Linked DNA regions of Homo sapiens: all the other regions are linked to region 2. Evidence: promoter capture Hi-C in 16 types of primary human blood cells and fetal thymus (Javierre and others, 2016). All regions are on one chromosome and are shown on one strand. The core of a region is centred on a gene start or on the middle of the fragment in contact, and the rest is flanking DNA. Distances in the headings are between cores, read along the strand shown. Region 1 overlaps CACNA1I (calcium voltage-gated channel subunit alpha1 I). Region 2 holds the start of TNRC6B-DT (TNRC6B divergent transcript). Region 3 has its middle 19 kb from the start of CACNA1I. Region 4 overlaps ADSL (adenylosuccinate lyase).

The links. The method cuts DNA at HindIII sites, captures the fragments that hold promoters and counts their contacts. A CHiCAGO score of 5 or more calls a contact.
Region 1: a fragment that was not itself captured here is called in contact with the fragment with the promoter of TNRC6B-DT in region 2 in 4 of 17 cell types (erythroblasts, M1 macrophages, megakaryocytes and 1 more); the score reaches 6.8 in erythroblasts.
Region 3: a contact is called between a fragment that was not itself captured here and the fragment with the promoter of TNRC6B-DT in region 2, in 14 of 17 cell types (megakaryocytes, M0 macrophages, activated CD4 T cells and 11 more). The highest score is 14.2, in megakaryocytes.
Region 4: a contact is called between a fragment that was not itself captured here and the fragment with the promoter of TNRC6B-DT in region 2, in 7 of 17 cell types (endothelial precursors, naive CD8 T cells, total CD4 T cells and 4 more). The highest score is 8.0, in endothelial precursors.

Annotation. Positions count from the first base shown.
Region 1 is chr22:39,600,095-39,602,794 of GRCh38, forward strand. CACNA1I (calcium voltage-gated channel subunit alpha1 I) reads left to right here. Exons shown (of 37, transcript NM_021096.4): 3 at 426-559. Among named protein-coding and RNA genes, the nearest start is that of CACNA1I, 31 kb to the left of the region's middle. The HindIII fragment of the contact is 879 bases long and covers 826-1,704 here.
Region 2 is chr22:40,043,162-40,045,861 of GRCh38, forward strand. It overlaps TNRC6B-DT (TNRC6B divergent transcript), which reads right to left and starts at 1,369. Exons shown (of 1, transcript NR_163486.1): 1 at 1-1,369. FAM83F (family with sequence similarity 83 member F) reads left to right here. Exons shown (of 5, transcript NM_138435.4): 5 at 1-373. It also overlaps a transcript of TNRC6B not described here. RefSeq lists enhancers at 364-1,011, 1,093-1,392, 1,703-1,822 and silencers at 2,123-2,342, 2,353-2,422. The HindIII fragment of the contact is 12,286 bases long and covers 1-2,700 here.
Region 3 is chr22:39,550,588-39,553,287 of GRCh38, forward strand. No RefSeq gene overlaps it. Among named protein-coding and RNA genes, the nearest start is that of CACNA1I, 19 kb to the right of the region's middle. The HindIII fragment of the contact is 2,704 bases long and covers 1-2,635 here.
Region 4 is chr22:40,365,575-40,368,287 of GRCh38, forward strand. ADSL (adenylosuccinate lyase) reads left to right here. Exons shown (of 13, transcript NM_000026.4): 13 at 862-2,713. The coding sequence ends at 948. Among named protein-coding and RNA genes, the nearest start is that of SGSM3, 3.7 kb to the right of the region's middle. The HindIII fragment of the contact is 1,399 bases long and covers 756-2,154 here.

The DNA.
Region 1 (2,700 bases), core at 15-2,514, 440 kb before region 2:
GAGTCTCTGTTTCCTCATCTGTAAAATGGGACTACCCATGGGGTCCTTGGGAGAATTAGGAGAGAGAATGGGGGTCAAGTGTGTAGCCAGTGCTTGGTAATTATTAGGGAGAATATGGGACGGCCCCTCACCCCACCCCCACCTGGGGCTCTTCTATCTGTTCCCAGGCTTAGGGAACAGATAGAACGGGCTGTATGACCTTGGGCAAACTCATTCCCGTCTCTGGGCCACAGTCTCCTCATCTATGAAATGACTGCATTGGACTGGGATCACTGAGGTTCTCCTCCTGCCCAGGAGGAGTTTCCGGGTGTTTCCCAGGCCCCTTGCATCCATGTGGTGTCCCCACCTCACACTGTGGCTGCAACCCCTGGGCCCTGCTCTGCAACCTCACCCTGTCCCTTGCTTCCCTCCTCCTGCCCCTGCAGGTCTTTGATGACTTCATCTTTATCTTCTTTGCCATGGAGATGGTGCTCAAGATGGTGGCCCTGGGGATTTTTGGCAAGAAGTGCTACCTCGGGGACACATGGAACCGCCTGGATTTCTTCATCGTCATGGCAGGGTAGGTAGCGCCCGCCAGGCAGGTCCTAGCCTCTGGTGCACACCAGGCATAATTGAGAGAATCCAGGGCTTCTTGCTGATGGCGATGAAGGGGAATCACGGTGATGCGTGGGACCCTCCTGGACCCCTGGGCTGGGAGGAATGATGGACAGACAGACATTCTTTCCTCCCTTCCTAAGTTGTGCGTCCTCCAGCACTGCCAGCGGATACTGGGTGAGTTTATGCTAATTAATGATACGACCTTGAGAGAGCCACTGACGCTCTCTAAGCTTTCATTTCCTCATCTGAAAAGGGGAATAATAATAGTAGCTGCGTCAAAATGAGCACCCAATAAATGCTAGCTGTTAGGATTGCTATCCTGGATCTCTCATCACGCCAGAGACCGAGCACAGACTCAAGCACTGTCTGACTCCAGACTGTGGTTATTTCTACCGAGACACAAGCTGCCGTCAGGGACAGGCCTGGTTACAGCTGAGCCCATCTGGAGCGTCTGTGACCCTGCTCTGGGTCTTGTGCCTGCTTTCCTGGGTCAAACCCATCCATGCATTCATCCATCAACCAGGGACTGAACAACTTGCTCCCCAGTGTTGGCGCCGCCCTAGCTGCTGGGGGCAAGGAGGAGAGCAAGCCAGACACAGGCCTTGTCCTTCCTACTCCTGTCTCGGGGAGGCACCCACCTGCTACGCCAGTGGGCGTGCCTTCACACACGGGGACCAGGGCGCTGGGCAAAGCATGTGGTTTGCTGAGAGCATTTAACACAGCAGCCCGACTGAGCCAAGCTGGGGACTTGGGGGCTTGAGGGCTTCCTGAGGAGGTGACACGGGAGAGCTGAAGGATGAGGAGACATTAACCATGCCCAAGAGTGGGTCATTATTAGGGCAGAGGAGAGAGAAAAAGGCTGGAGGCTGTACGTGTGTGTGTGAGAGAGGGTGTGTGAGTGTGTGTGTCAGTGTATGTGTGTATGTGTGTGACCTCGTGTGTAGAATGCTATTGAGGAGGTGTGACCTTTTTGATTCAGTAGACGCATGGCTGAGACGGACAGTCAGGGTGTGAGAATCCCATCAGGTATCTGCTAAATTCCACAGATGTGTTCTGAAGTGAGGTGATTCGTTTCACTAGGGTTTTAAAAAAGTTACACCTCTTCTAAGCTTGCTTGCTCTCTCGCTTTCTCTCCTTCCTTCCTTCCCTCCCTCCCTCCCTCCCTCCTTCCTTCCTTCCTTCCTTCTCTCTCTTTCTTTCACCCTCCCTCCCTCCCTCCCTCCCTCCTTCCTTCCTTCCTGCCTTCCTTCCTTCCTTCCTTCTCTCTCTCTTTCTTTCACCCTCCCTCCCTTCCTTCCTTCCTTCCTTCCCTCCTTCCTTCCTTCCCTCCTTCCTTCCTTCTCTCTCTCTTTCTTTCGCCCTCCCTCCCTCCCTCCCTTCCTTCCTTCCTTCTTTTTTTGAGATGGGGTCTCACTCTGTACCTAGGTTGGAGTGTGGTGATGCAGTCACCACACACTGCAGCCTTGACTTCCTAGGCTCAAAGGATCCTCCCACCTCAGCCTCCTGAGTAGCTGGGACTGCAGGCATGTGCTACCAACCCTGGCTAATTTTTCTTTTCTTTTCTATAGAGACAGGGTCTCACTATGTTGCCCAGGCTGGTCTTGAACTCCTGGGTTCAAGCTTTCCTCCCACCTCAGCCTCCCAAAGTGCTGGGATTACAGGTGTGAGCCACCGCACCTGGCCTCTAAGCATCTTCTCTCAATCACTGTATTCAGTTTTACAAACACATTGTCAACAGTCACTGAGACCTGTACGGAAGCTACTCTGGTTTCCTGTGGTTTCCTGAGCACTGTATCCTCCTCTTAGTCACGTTCTTCGTTTTCATTCTTATTCTGGTTTGGCTGGAGAACATCTTTAAGTAGTTTTTTTTTAAAAGAAAAGGTGTTTGGATAGTGTCATTTTTCAATCTTGCCTGTCCAAACATATATTCCTTTGATCTTTGAGTGTGGACCGTTATTTGTGCTATTGTAGAGTCAGAACACTGCACACATCCTGCCATTCAAACCTACACTATAGTATTGCAGGTGAGTCCAGTACAGATCTGGTTCCTCTTTCTCGGAAGATGACCTTCTTTTTCCTGACTAGAAGCTTGTGGGCTTTTCT
Region 2 (2,700 bases), core at 119-2,618:
AGTGCCAAGGAGGTTACACAACAGCTTGGATCAGGAAGTGAAACAAGGGCGGTGATCCCACTGAAGCTACAGGGGATGGGGATTTGGGACGGTAAAATGTTAATTACCCAAGATGGAATGTGGGCTAGAGTCCAGCGTTGTGCTCCTGGAGATCATTTCGGTCGCAAAAGCTCACTGGCAATGGGTCCTAAGCGTCCTGCCCTCCTCTGGCTGAAATGTTGGATTCACTTCGATGAATGCTGCTATAGGGAAAGAACCCAGTGGCCACCAGCCAGGAGCACACGTCTTGCTCAGCATCAACTATCCTGGAAGATTTCCAGGAGCTGAAGGGCTGTTCTCTTTGCATGCAATAAATTATTCATTTCTAAGACGATTTATTCTGTCTCTCTCTTTAGACTTGATTTCTCCTAGTTTTCCAGCTCTTGAGGACTCTCTCCAAAGAATGAGTTGTAGATGGTTGGTCAGGGGTTGCGAGTGGTGCCTAGGCTTCGCATAAAAGGAGGCAGAAATGTCTACCTTAAAGGGGAGAGGAATGGGTCCTGGGGAGGAAGATGTGGTGGAGGCAATGACAACCTTTCCATAGTAAGTCCCCAACAAAGTCACTTCTAGAAACTGACTGAAGACTTTGAGTTCCAAATGAAACGTTTTTAAGATGCTAGGTTGGCTGACAAGTACATCGTCTAAGGTGGAGGCACTAAAGCATAATAAAAAGAGTGAAGTCTCTGCAGTTTGACCCAGGACCAGATGCCAGGCCCACCAACGACTCTGTATCTGGATGACCTTGGGCAAGTTTTCTAAGCTCTCGCCAGCCTTAATTTCCCATCTATAAAAACTGGATACTGCATTACTCCCAGGTTTAACCAGATAATGTTTGTGAAGAAAGCAGCCCAATACTTGGCACAAAATAGGCAAGGGAGTCACTATTATCGTCAACTACTGGCCAAACAACCAGAGTTGACCCCAAATCCCCAGTAAACAATTAACCGTAGCAGAGCGAATCCGGATCTGACGCACCTATTTGCCCAATAAGGTGCCAGGAAATAACACAGTGGAGTCAAACCAATGGTATTAGCCCTTGTTGATGGACGGGCTTTCTTGCTGTTCCACCAATAGCTTGAAGATTTGACTGGGGAGTGACATCCTGACAGTCCAATGACGCACAACCAGCCCACACTCAGCACTTCGGAGGGGATAAATCAAGGAGCCGGCACGTATGGATTCCGTTATAGGGCAGTACTGGTTGGAGAGAGGAGCTTAGGGAAACAGCGCCGAGGCAAGGCACTAATGAGCTAAAAATAAAGAAAAAAGACGATGGTTGCGCCAAGCGACCTCGGCCGCCATCATGCTCTAATTTCCCCTGAGTCTCTCTGGGTCCTCGACCGAGGAAGCGGCCTCTGGGATGCTGAGGGGGTGTGTCCCCACATGATTGGCTCAGGCAGCTCAGCCAATCCTAGCTCGTTAAACGGGAAGCACTTAACCAATGAGGGGCGAAGGCAGCAACGAGGAATTGGAGGGGCGGAACGACAGCTTGACGGGCACAAAAGCCAGCCAGTGAGAGCCGGAAGCATCCTCCCTGCGGCCAATGGAGTGGGGCTCTGGGCGGGCCCCCGAGTGTTTGTGTTGTGGTTTTGGGGGAGGGATGCGGAGGGGAAAGTTTGTTTATTTTGTTTTTAGTTTTTGGGGTCCCCGTGCTGCTGCAAGGCGAAACGGGAGGGAGTGACCCCTGCGCCCCTCAGTCCCCCCTACGACGTCGCCTCCATAGTCTGCGGAGAAGCGGAGACTGCGCGCCTCGCCTCACAGCGAAACGCCGCGCACTCGGAGCCGGCACGGCTCGGCGGTGAGTGAGGTGCGGCGGCCGCGCCGTCCTTCCCCTCCCCCGCGCCCCGCCGGGACGGAGCGGGGCGGCCGGGGGTCGGCGAGGGCGCCCCCGGGGGCGCGCGGCGCGGCCCGGGGCGGTGAGCGGAGGCGCGGCGTGTGCGTGTCCTCGCGAGGGAGCGCGCGTGGGGCGGGGAGCGGGCCGGGGAGGGGGCGTGAGCGCGCGCGGGGCTGGTGCGGCCGGCGGCGCTGAGCGCGCGCTCCGCGGGAGCGGGCGCCGCCGAGATTTGAGTCGAGGGGCGGGGAGGGACTCGGGGCGACGTCCGGCGCGCGGGCCGGGGCGCCCCGAACGGCCGGGCAGGCACTGGCGGGCGCGCGCGCGGCTCCGGGCGTCACGCGCCAGCAGGTGTGAGCTGGGGGAGGGCTTCCGGGTGGGCTGGCCCGGCCGTCGAGTTCGCTTCCCGTCTCCGGGGGGCCTCGGCGCGGGGACACCTTCCCGGCCCGCGGAGGCGCGTCCGCCCCTGGCTGGCGGTGGCAGAGGGAGGCGTCAGGCCTCGGATCCTCGGGTCCCTGCGCAGCGTCCCGGCCTGTGTGCAGGACCTGCGTGACAAGGTGAATGCGTTCCACACCCCTCGCCAGGGCCCTGCGTGTGCGGCCACTTGGGGAGGCGGCTCAGACTCTGGACAAGGAAACGAGGGGCACGGAGAGTGTTTTTACACCTTCCCGTGGTCCGGTGCCCTTCAGTTCCAGACTACCGGTTTATTCGGCTGTAGAGGCTGGACATCCGATCCAGCGAGACACGCTGTAGTGGTTAAAGACGTCCAGTAACGGTCACCTCTAGTCAAGCGCCTTAAGGACCAGCTTATTCTGAATTCTTTGGAATTC
Region 3 (2,700 bases), core at 34-2,533, 490 kb before region 2:
GCTTACAGTAATGACCTGGCCAACTACAGCGCCTCCAGCCTGAGACCCACTCCCACCACACAGGCCTCATGGTCTCTCCTTGATGGCGACATTGAGGGTGTTTGCCTGGAAGCCTGACTGCCCGGGTGCCGGGACTTTGTCCAGCTGAGGATAAAAGGGATAGTTGCCTGCTCTATTATTCTATCTCCAAGCAGCAGGAGTGGCAGAAAGGAAGAGTGTGAGGGCACACGTGCGTGAGAGATGTACATACACACACACAGCGGGGAGACGGGAGAGCAAGAGACAGACAGGAAGAGTTAGGGAGACAGAGAGACAGAGGGGCATGGAGAGAGCCAGAGAAAGGGTAAGACAGAGAAACGCCAAGGAGGAAGGGAGCCAGGCAAGGGAAACAGGAAGCAGGAGAGAGACGCCCAAAGAGACAGAGACAGAGGTGGACAGAAGCCAGCAGGGGCAGAGGGTCCCCACCCCCTGCACCTCAAGGTGATTTTTCCTCTTTTCATCGTCCACTCTCCTCTCTGGCTCCGTCGCTCCTAAGCTGGGCTTTCCGGTCCCTCTTCCACCTCTTCCCCAGTGTCATTTTCTTTTCTTTCTTTCTTTCTTTTTTTTTTTTTTTTGAGATAGTCTTGCTCTGTCGCCCAGGCTAGAGTGCAATGGCATGATCTCAGCTTACTGCAACCTAGGTTGCCGCCTCCTGGGTTCAAGAGATTCTCCTGCCTCAGCCTCCCGAGTAGCTGGGATTACAGGCGCCTGCCACCCTGCCTGACTAATTTTTGTATTTTTAGTAGAGGCGGGGTTTCACCAAGCTGGCCAGGCTGGTCTCGAACTCCTGACCTCAGATGATCCACCTGCCTCAGCCTCCCAAAGTGCTGGGATTACAGGGGTGAGCCACTGCGCCCAGACCCCCATGTCTTTTTTAACCTGATGCTCTCCGGGCCTTTGCTCCTGCTGTCCCTTGGCTTGAGATGCCCTTCCTCCAATACTTGGCTAGGAAAACTCAGATCTGCCCACTGCCTGTTGTCCCTTCTAGGCCTTCACTGTCTCTCCCTTTGTGGAGCCTTCTTTGGCCCTCCTGGTCTGACCCCAGAAAATATCGTTTCCTCCTGGGGGCTCCCAGCTCCTTTCTTCCGAGCTTAAATCCAGGTTGTCCAGATGTGGCTTCTCCCCACAGGGCTGGGGTTCATCTGTTTCTGTATACCTGACACGTGGCACTTAGTAGGTGGTCAATAAACATCACTGAGTGATGGCCTGGCGTGTAACTGTTGTCACACCAGCTCTCTTGAACTCAATTTCTTTCTTTTTTCCTTTTTTGACATGGAGTCTCGCTCTATTGCCCAGGCTGGAGTATAGTGGCGCGATCTTGGCTCACTGCAAACTCTGCCTCCTGGGCTCAAGCAATTCTCCTGCCTCAGCCTCCCGAGTAGCTAGGATTACAGGCGCATGCTGCCACGCCCGGCTAATTTCTGTATTGTTAGTAGAGACTGGATTCTCTGAGCCCTGTCCAGGAAGCTCCTCAGGCATCAGCTACCTGTTTTGGTTGAGAGTCAGGGACCTCCGACCTGGCAGGAACTTGAGGTTCCTGGGGTCTGTCCCCAGCTATGCTCTGCCCCCACTCCAGGCTTTTGTCCTGGGCAGATAGATAGGCTTTTGTCCTGGGCAGAGATAGATTCTCTCTCTCTCTCTCTCACACACACACACATGCGCACACACATGCACTCTGGCATAGAATCCTGTTTATGCTACTTATTAGCTGTGTGACTCTGGGCAATTTACTTAATTTCTCCGGATTCTGGTTCTCCCGAGTGTAAGTGGAGCTGCATGATCCCTGTCACCTAGGACTGCTGGGGGTTAAGTGGGCTGATAGAAGAAGTGGACACCTGCAGCCGGGCCCAGGGGCTCCCTGCTTCTCAGCTACATAAGCCAGCTCCACCCCCACACTTCCTGCCCAGATTCCTAGGGATGCAGCAATCTTGGGGGGCTGCCAGTGTTCTCCTGGACCCCTCTGGCTTTGACCTTTTGCTTCTGCTGGCTTAGTGCAGTTGGGGATGGACTGGGTGACATGCCCAGGGCTGTTCTTGTTCATGTCAGCACTGAGGGGGAGCTCGGCTCCTTTCTTGATATCCACACACTGAGTACCCCTGTGGGTCCAGCAGATGTTCCTGGGGACTTGGCAGGGGAGGGACACTGACACTGCAGCCATGCAAACCACTTCAAATCGAAGTCCCCCCGCTTCTGGGGGATCCCCCCAGGTGCGTCCCCCTCTGCGTGTCCCTGGTCTCCTCCATCTTGCAATCTCTTCTCTCCTCTCCCTTCCCTCTCCACTCTTTTCTCTCTGGACCTTCTGATTCTTCTCTCTTTATGTTGCAGAACAATCCAGCCACTACCTTCCAGACTGGGCTCTGGGTCCATCTTGGCCTCTTCAAACCCATCAAGGTGCCCACAGGTGCTGGGGTTCAGCCTGCCCCATCACATATGGGAAGCCCAGCGTCTGGCCCATCCTCCCTAGGGTCTCATTCCAAATCTCCTCCCTGTTTTACCCACAGTCAGCACTTCCAGAATTTTCCATCTCGTAATGTCCTCCAGCCATGGCACAGGCCTGGTACGCAGAGGTGATTAACAGATGCTTTTGGACTGTTGAAGCTTGCATTCTGCCATTGGTTTTCTCCTATCATGGTGGACTGCTCCCAGGCCAGGGACATTTGG
Region 4 (2,713 bases), core at 205-2,704, 320 kb after region 2:
AAATGAATAGATAGGCTGGGCGCAGTGGCTCACACCAGTAATCCTAGCATTTTGGGAGGCCGAGGCAGGAGGATTGCTTGAGCTCAGGAGTTCAAGAACATCCTGGGCAACATGGTGAAACCTTGTCTCTACAAAAAAATACAAAAATTAGCCAGGTGTGGTGGTGTGCGCCTGTAGTCTCTGCTACTCAGGGCTGAGGCGGGAGGATAGCTTGAGCCTAGGAGGTCAAGGCTGCAGTGAGCCATATTCATTCCCTTGCCCTCTGGCTTGGGTGACAAAATGAGATCCTGTCTTAAAAAAAATACAAAGATGAATAGATAATCCTCATCTTCAGAGAGCTCAAAACTTAGTGGTGAATACTTGTAAATAGGTCATTATGATACCAAGCAGTACGTGCAAGGACTGAGGGCTAAAAGACTAAAACTGGAGGTAGGAGACCAATAAGGAGGCTACTGCAACGGGCCAAGCAGTAGATGATGAGAGCTTGAGTGAAGGCAGTGGTGAGAGACACAGACCGGGGAGGGAGAGGAGGTTAAGCTCTTGGTGGCTACTTGAAGAGGGCTGGGAAGCAGGAGGAAAGAAGCTGTGGTGATTTTTAGGTTGGATGGAAATGGTGAAACCACCTGAGAGAACACAGGCTGGGCCAGTTTGCGGGAAAGGTTGGTGAGCATGTGGGCATGGTGGTTGAATCATCTGTGTCTAGGCAGAAATTCCTGATAGGCAGTTGAGGAAAACAAGCTCAGTGTTGGAGTAAAAGCTTCATCAAATTAGGTTTCAGTGGTATCCCCTGACATTGGAAAAGGTATTATCTGCTAATATCTTAACATTTTCTTTTGTCTTGTATTTGCTTTCCTCTGGCAGGTGCAGAGATTCTTAGAAGAGGAGGTGTATCCCCTGTTAAAACCATATGAAAGCGTGATGAAGGTGAAAGCAGAATTATGTCTGTAGAGTTGGAAGAGAATTAAACGAAAATCATTGTTAATTGCTGAGGCATGAAAATTGTGTTACTATAATGCCTTATTTTACCTCGAGAATTGTTACCTTAAATTAGTACAGCACTTTCTTCTTCCCATGGTGCTTTCCTGTTTCTCAGTCTCACATTTCTCAACAAGGCAAAAACAAAGAGCGTTGAAGTTGACTCTGCTCTTGCATAGTAAATGTAGTTCATACTTGATCTCTGTTCTTTCAAGGCATATTTTCCAGCTGCCTCAAGTTTAGTCCTTTTCACGTGTTCATTTGCTTGTAAAGTAGCAAGAAATTTCTGGTCCTGTCTTCTAAAAGTGAATTTGATCTAGGTCTAGCAAAATAACCTGGACTCAGTGATTGAGTCAATGGTCAGATACCTTTTATTTCGGTTATTTTTGGCTAGTATAAGTGATGAAGTTTGGAACTACAGTAAATACTTAAAAAAAAAAAAAAAAAGAACCAAACCCTGATGTGACCATCAGGCTGATTGAGCTGAAGTTGTGCCCAAGCTCATTTCATCTTTTGATAAGGCTTATACAGCAGGGAAATGCTAATTGAGTATATTGATTTCATCAGGGCCGCTGACAGTCTTTATTCCTTGTTGCATGGATTTTGTTGTTGAGGCTTGCTCTGTCACCCAGACTAGAGTGCAGTAGCACAATCTTGGCTCACTGCAACCTCCGCCTCTCAGGTTCAAGCGATTCTCCAGCCTCAGCCTCCCAAGTAGCTGGGATTACAGGCGCCTGCCGCCATGCCTGGCTAATTTTTGTATTTTTAGACGGGATGGAGTTTTGCCATGTTGGGCGGGCTGGTCTTGAACTCCTGACCTCAAGTGATCCGCCCATCTCAGCCTCCCAAAGTTCTGGGATTATAGACATGAGCCACCACACCCAGCCTAATCTTGTTTTCTTTTTTTACTTGTTTACAGTGTAAGCAAGTGCCATTGGACAAGAACGTTGTCTGTGTCATTCCTTGTTGTATTTCCAATAGCAAGAGCACATCAGATACTTGGCAACTAGGCAGTCTTCCAGCTTCTGCCACTGCGCCCGACTTCCTTGTTGCATGGATTTATAGCTGATTGAAGCAACTGTAGCCAAAGATTGAGTTAATTACCTACCTGCCAGGAGAGCACTAGTGTTATTTAGCCCATTCTCATCCTACATATTTTTCGGCATAGATGAAAATGAAAGCTTTTGTTTATCAGATTTGCAGATGACACAAAACTGGGAGAATTAACAAGTATGTTTATTTGGTAAAATAAGTTTTCATCTCTAACCTAAATCGGCTGAAATGATGTGTCCTAAACTAGAGGAAAAAGTTAATAAAGATCAATGTAAATAAGTTAATCTTAAACTCAGTATGCACCAGAACTGAGAGAAGACTGTTTTAGGAGGTGTTAATGGTTGTCCAGTGCCCAAAAAGCCACCAGAGGCTTACTGCTCCGCACTCTTGGCATTACATTCAATTTTGGATACCCAGTCTGAGGAATAGAGATGAACTGGAGAGCCAACCTCCAAAAAGATCTTGTGGTGGAGGAATGTTAGGGCTCTTTATCCTATACAGAAGAAAACTCCTCGGCACTTCAAATATTGCCAGGTGCAGGAAGAGTGACTTGATTGTGTGTTGCCCCAAGAGACACACTGAGCTCAATACCCATTACTGAGACTGGCTTGGGGCCAGACATTGGAACCACTGAGATTAGCAACCTACACTCAATCCCCCAGGTCAGGCAGAAGCTGGAAGACTG